Regions from separate parts of the Homo sapiens genome. Here region 1 is linked to region 2. The links are contacts of gene promoters, found by promoter capture Hi-C in blood cells and fetal thymus (Javierre and others, 2016). All regions are on one chromosome and are shown on one strand. The core of a region is centred on a gene start or on the middle of the fragment in contact, and the rest is flanking DNA. Distances in the headings are between cores, read along the strand shown.

Evidence for each region. The method cuts DNA at HindIII sites, captures the fragments that hold promoters and counts their contacts. A CHiCAGO score of 5 or more calls a contact.
Region 1: a fragment that was not itself captured here is called in contact with the fragment with the promoter of ZNF256 in region 2 in 1 of 17 cell types (non-activated CD4 T cells); the score reaches 7.3 in non-activated CD4 T cells.

Annotation. Positions count from the first base shown.
Region 1 is chr19:36,546,028-36,548,755 of GRCh38, reverse strand. It overlaps ZNF529 (zinc finger protein 529), which reads left to right. Exons shown (of 5, transcript NM_020951.5): 5 at 434-2,728. The coding sequence ends at 1,890. Among named protein-coding and RNA genes, the nearest start is that of ZNF260, 19 kb to the right of the region's middle. The HindIII fragment of the contact is 7,809 bases long and covers 1-2,728 here.
Region 2 is chr19:57,946,187-57,948,958 of GRCh38, reverse strand. ZNF256 (zinc finger protein 256) reads left to right here and starts at 1,253. Exons shown (of 3, transcript NM_005773.3): 1 at 1,253-1,517. The coding sequence starts at 1,485. RefSeq lists enhancers at 1,015-1,104, 1,175-1,274, 1,765-1,844. The HindIII fragment of the contact is 12,388 bases long and covers 1-2,772 here.

The sequences.
Region 1 (2,728 bases), core at 96-2,595, about 21 Mb after region 2:
AGCCAACACGCCCAGGCAAAATGAGGTCTTAACAAACTGCACCTTGTTATTATCCTCGGTAAAATTTATTTTTGGGGAGGAAAACCACAAAAGTGTTAGTATATATGGATTATCAAATTTTGATCTGCGTTAGCATTACCTCTACAAGATGCTAATGACTAGTTCTACATCTACAGATTTTGATTCTGTTTAACCAATGAGCTTACCAGGTGATGACCAACACACAAATTTCAGATCCACTGACTTAATCTGTTACCTTTATCACAATCCTCATAATCTTTATGTTCTGCTGTTACTCTGTGAGCTCTCTTTATCTTTCATGACAGTATTTTAACCAATTCATGTATATGGTGAATTATTCTTAAATTGTCTCTTCTTTCTATAACTGTTTTATTTTTGTAGTACATGAAAATTATTTTTTCCTTTCTTTCAGATTTGGAGTCCAGGAATGAGACTAAGCATTTATCTGTAGGAAAAGATATTATTCAAAACACTGGTTCTCAGTGGGAGGTAATGGAAAGTAGCAAGTTATGTGGCCTTGAAGGTTCCATTTTCAGAAATGACTGGCAAAGCAAAAGCAAGATTGACTTACAAGGACCTGAAGTGGGATATTTCAGTCAAATGAAAATCATCTCTGAAAATGTGCCCAGTTACAAAACTCATGAATCTCTTACTTTACCTCGGAGAACTCATGACAGTGAGAAGCCCTATGAATACAAGGAATATGAGAAGGTCTTCAGTTGTGACTTAGAGTTTGATGAATATCAGAAAATACATACTGGTGGAAAAAACTATGAATGTAATCAATGTTGGAAAACCTTTGGGATAGATAACTCCAGTATGTTACAACTGAATATTCATACTGGTGTGAAACCTTGTAAATATATGGAATATGGGAATACATGTAGTTTTTATAAAGACTTTAATGTATACCAGAAAATTCATAATGAGAAGTTCTATAAATGTAAGGAATACAGAAGGACCTTTGAAAGAGTTGGAAAAGTTACTCCACTTCAAAGAGTTCATGATGGTGAGAAACACTTTGAATGCTCATTCTGTGGGAAATCCTTTAGAGTGCATGCACAACTTACTCGACATCAGAAAATCCATACTGATGAGAAAACTTACAAATGTATGGAATGTGGCAAGGACTTCAGATTTCATTCACAGCTTACCGAACATCAGAGAATTCATACTGGTGAGAAACCCTACAAATGTATGCACTGTGAGAAGGTTTTTAGAATTAGTTCACAGCTCATTGAACATCAGAGAATTCACACTGGTGAGAAACCTTATGCATGTAAGGAATGTGGGAAGGCTTTTGGAGTATGTAGAGAACTTGCTCGTCATCAGAGAATTCATACTGGTAAGAAACCCTATGAATGCAAAGCATGTGGAAAGGTCTTTAGAAATAGTTCATCCCTGACTAGACATCAGAGGATTCATACTGGTGAAAAACCCTATAAATGTAAAGAATGTGAGAAAGCATTTGGAGTAGGTAGTGAACTTACTCGACATGAAAGAATTCACAGTGGTCAAAAACCTTATGAATGTAAGGAGTGTGGAAAGTTCTTTAGACTTACGTCAGCCCTTATTCAACATCAAAGAATTCATAGTGGTGAGAAACCTTATGAATGTAAGGTATGTGGGAAGGCCTTTAGACATAGTTCAGCCCTTACAGAACATCAGAGAATTCATACTGGAGAAAAACCCTATGAATGCAAGGCATGTGGGAAGGCCTTTAGACATAGTTCATCCTTTACCAAACATCAGCGCATTCATACTGATGATAAACCCTATGAATGTAAGGAGTGTGGGAATTCCTTTAGTGTTGTTGGGCATCTTACTTGCCAACCGAAAATTTACACTGGTGAGAAATCATTTGACTGAAATAAATGTATAAAGTGGTTTTTTATTTCTGATTTTCACAGGAAAATACTGTGGATGGATTTAATAGGTAATCAAGGCAATTCAGTATCTCCCTCTCTTAAAGTCTGTTTTTAGACTTCATGGTCATTCTGTATGTAGACGTAGAATTGCTTAGTCATAGCTGATATATACTTATAGCTTTGTTAGATGTTGCCAAATATTTCTCCTTTTTATGTTAAAAAGTTTTTTTCATGAGTTTCTCATCCTGGCATGTTTTGTTTACAATAGCTTTTGATGTTTGTATTATTGCTCTTTTGACTATTCAGTTTTTTAATTGTAATATTACTTCAATATCTTTTCTGCATTGTAATTCTTTGCTTGTGATATCTATACTTACTTATTTTCCTCCACAGAGTTAGCACTCCTAGTCAGATACAATGTATTTTTACAGTCTTACAGCTCATCATTTTGTGTAATGTTGTTTTGTTTTGTTTTAAATGATAGAAGTGTGATCTCCTTTCCATTTTCATCCAATTGTTGACTTCTCTTTAAATTTCTACTTTATTTTGATACAACATATTCCCCCCAAAAAAACACATACATAGGAACTGGTTATATTCCACCATAACACACACACACACACACACACACTATATACATATAGTGTATATACACATATAGTGTATATAGTGTATGTGTGATGTATACTATACATATCACATATACTATATGTGTGTATATAGTGTGTGATGTATATGTGTGTGATGTATACTATATATGCCCACACATGCACTACATAACACACTATATATATATATATATATACACACACACACACACAATATATGTATATATAGTA
Region 2 (2,772 bases), core at 4-2,503:
TGGTGAGCCGAGATCGCACCATTGCACTCCAGCCTGGGCAACAAGAGCGTAACTAATGGGGGCAAAGATAATCATTTCAGCGTTGAGAAGAGATCTTGAATTTAAGATACACCCTACATTTGGGATTCAGAGCACCCTTTGTTCCACCTGTTAATGCTCTAGCTAGCCATCATGCCTTTTCAAAATACCATTCCTTTTGTTGTTCTCTTTCTGAGCTTGATGTCAAATTATTAAAAAGAAGTGAATATAAAGGCATGGAGAAAGTGAGATTAGATTCATGCAAGTGTTGCTTAGTGAATTGGACACAATGTTTGACTACACAGGCACGAGAGGGACCCAGAGACAGGGATCTACTTATGTCCTGCTGCTGCAGGGTGCCTCCGCATCCCACCTTCATCCTCTTTGTCATGAACCTGTGTGGAGTGTTTTTTTTCTTGTCCCTAATCAAACATACAGAGACTGAGAAAACTGACTCCAGTGCTTGAGTGCATGCGTTTGAATTGCAACATAGTCTTTTTTTTTTTTTTTTTTTTTTTTTTTTTTTGAGACAGTGGCTCGCTCTTTCCCCCAGGCTGGAGTGCAGTGGCGCGATCTCGGCTCACTGCAAGCTCTGCCTCCCGGGTTCAAGCTATTTTCCTGCCTCAGCCTCCGGAGTAGCTGGGGACTACAGGCGCCCGCCACCACACCCAGCTAATTTTTCTTTTTTTTTTTTTTTTTGTGGTATTTTTTGTATTTTAGAGACGGGGTTTCGCTGAGTTAGCCAGGATGGTCTCGATCTCCTGACCTCGTGATCCGCCCGCCTCGACCTCCCAAAGTGCTGGAATTACAGGCGTGAGCCACCGCGCCCGGCCGCAACATAGTCATATTTATTTGCTTTCTCAACCAGTGGATATATTTTGTGACTGACTGACTGTATGTAATAATATGTGCATCTGGATATGTGCCTCTGGGAACACATGAAATGACACGTCTCCAAACAAACACTGGCAGACAGCAATCGGTAGAAACCTGGGTACGTCTCCTTTAAGAAAGAACGAAGCCTCGCCTCCGCCCCAACCTGGAGTGTCCATTTCCCAGCGCCCCCTACAGGGGTTTGGCCTTTACTTCCGGAAGGAGGTGGAGGCGACCCTCACTCTCCCGCCGTGCGCCTGTGGGAACATTACCCAGAATGGCCTGCGTTGGGCGACGGCGACCTTCAGCCAATGAGGCCTCCGAAAGGTGGTGTTTCCGTAAGCGCACGCGCGGTCGCGGCGGGACTTCCGTTGTCCTCCTTGTGGCGGTCGTTTTGGCATTTGTCTGGACTGATTACTTGGTAGAAAGCCCCGGAGCGCTGGGTCAGCATCATCCGTGACTGACTGAGAAGGCGCGAGAGGAGTCTTCCCCGCTGCACAGAGGCGTGGCTGAGGCTCGGCGGCGCCCAGGGTACCCAGGCCCGGCCCGGAATAAGGACATCCTCTCTGGCCCCGCTCCGCTCACAGAGTCAGATGGCGGCGGCCGAGCTGACGGCCCCGGCCCAGGTATGTGCCGCGTCCTCTGGGCCTTCCCCGCCCTCCCCACGCTAGTCCTAGCACCCCCGAGGGCGCTTGCTCGCGGCCCTGCTGCCCAGGACAGGACACGGGGGCTCGCCGGAGGGGCTCCCGTTTCCAACACCTGGTGTGCTAGGGAAGGGAGGGCGCGACTGGCAAGGAGCCCCTGATGAGAGGCGCCACTGAGCCCTGGGGCACAGAGGTGACACAGCCATTGCGAGGGCACCCGGCTCCAAGGCCAGGCATGGGGCTACGGGGTGGCTTGAGCCCATCTAATACCGCCATAGATGCTCTTCTCTGAGGCCTGGCTCTTTCTACGTTTCCCTTGGCTGTAAAGGGTTATGAAATCTACGCCAGGAAGGGGAGGGTTTCCCAGTCTCTCACTAGCCCTAACTCCCACCCACAGGTTCTCTGGGTTGTGGAGTGCCATTCCCCCAGCCCTTAGTTCTGAAGACCTTGGGTGAACCCCAAGCCCAGGGTCCTATGTCCATGTTAGCCGGTATATAGAGTTGTTCCAATTTCTGGCAGCCATGTGAACGGGTGTGGAAAGTTTTTCCAGAAAGGTACAAGATGTGCAAATGCTTAGGTGCAGTACGGAGCTGGGTGCATTTATGAAGCCACAAGTCTCCTTGCTTTCTGGTGGGAAGCAAAGAACAGGAGGATAGGCGTCAGGACTGCAGTGGCTGCCTGAGAAGTTGAGTGTGTTTTCAGGAGGTAATAGCAAGTTTGAATCAGAAAAAAGAGGTAATTTACCAAGGTCTTCACAGGCTTCATCTGTGTGCACAGTGGGGCACAAACTGGGGGGTTGAGGGAGGAGGAAGGAAAATCAGGGTAGACTAGTCCAAGTGAGGGTTACTGGCCCAGGATCGTGATTTAGGAGATGTGGTTAGATTCCGGATGTGTGGTTTCAAAAGGGACAACTAAATTACATAATGTAGGTGGTGAGGGAGTGAAACAGAGGGTTCAGAGAAGACTCCAGGGTTTTTGGTATTAGCAGCTGTAGGGAAAGAAGTTTCATCAACTAAGATGAACAAATTGGCAATAGGAGTAATATTCACTAGGGATATCAGGTTTGTTTATGCCATGCTAAGAGTCAGATCTTTCAGAGCCTACTAAATGGAGGCGTTAAGTGGGCAGATGAACGTGCCGGTCTTGAAATCTAGGGAGTGGTTCAGGGTGCAGATATTCAAGATGTGGCTGTTGTGCGCACCAAGGTTAGTGAGCTGTGGGTCACAGTTAGGCGGGG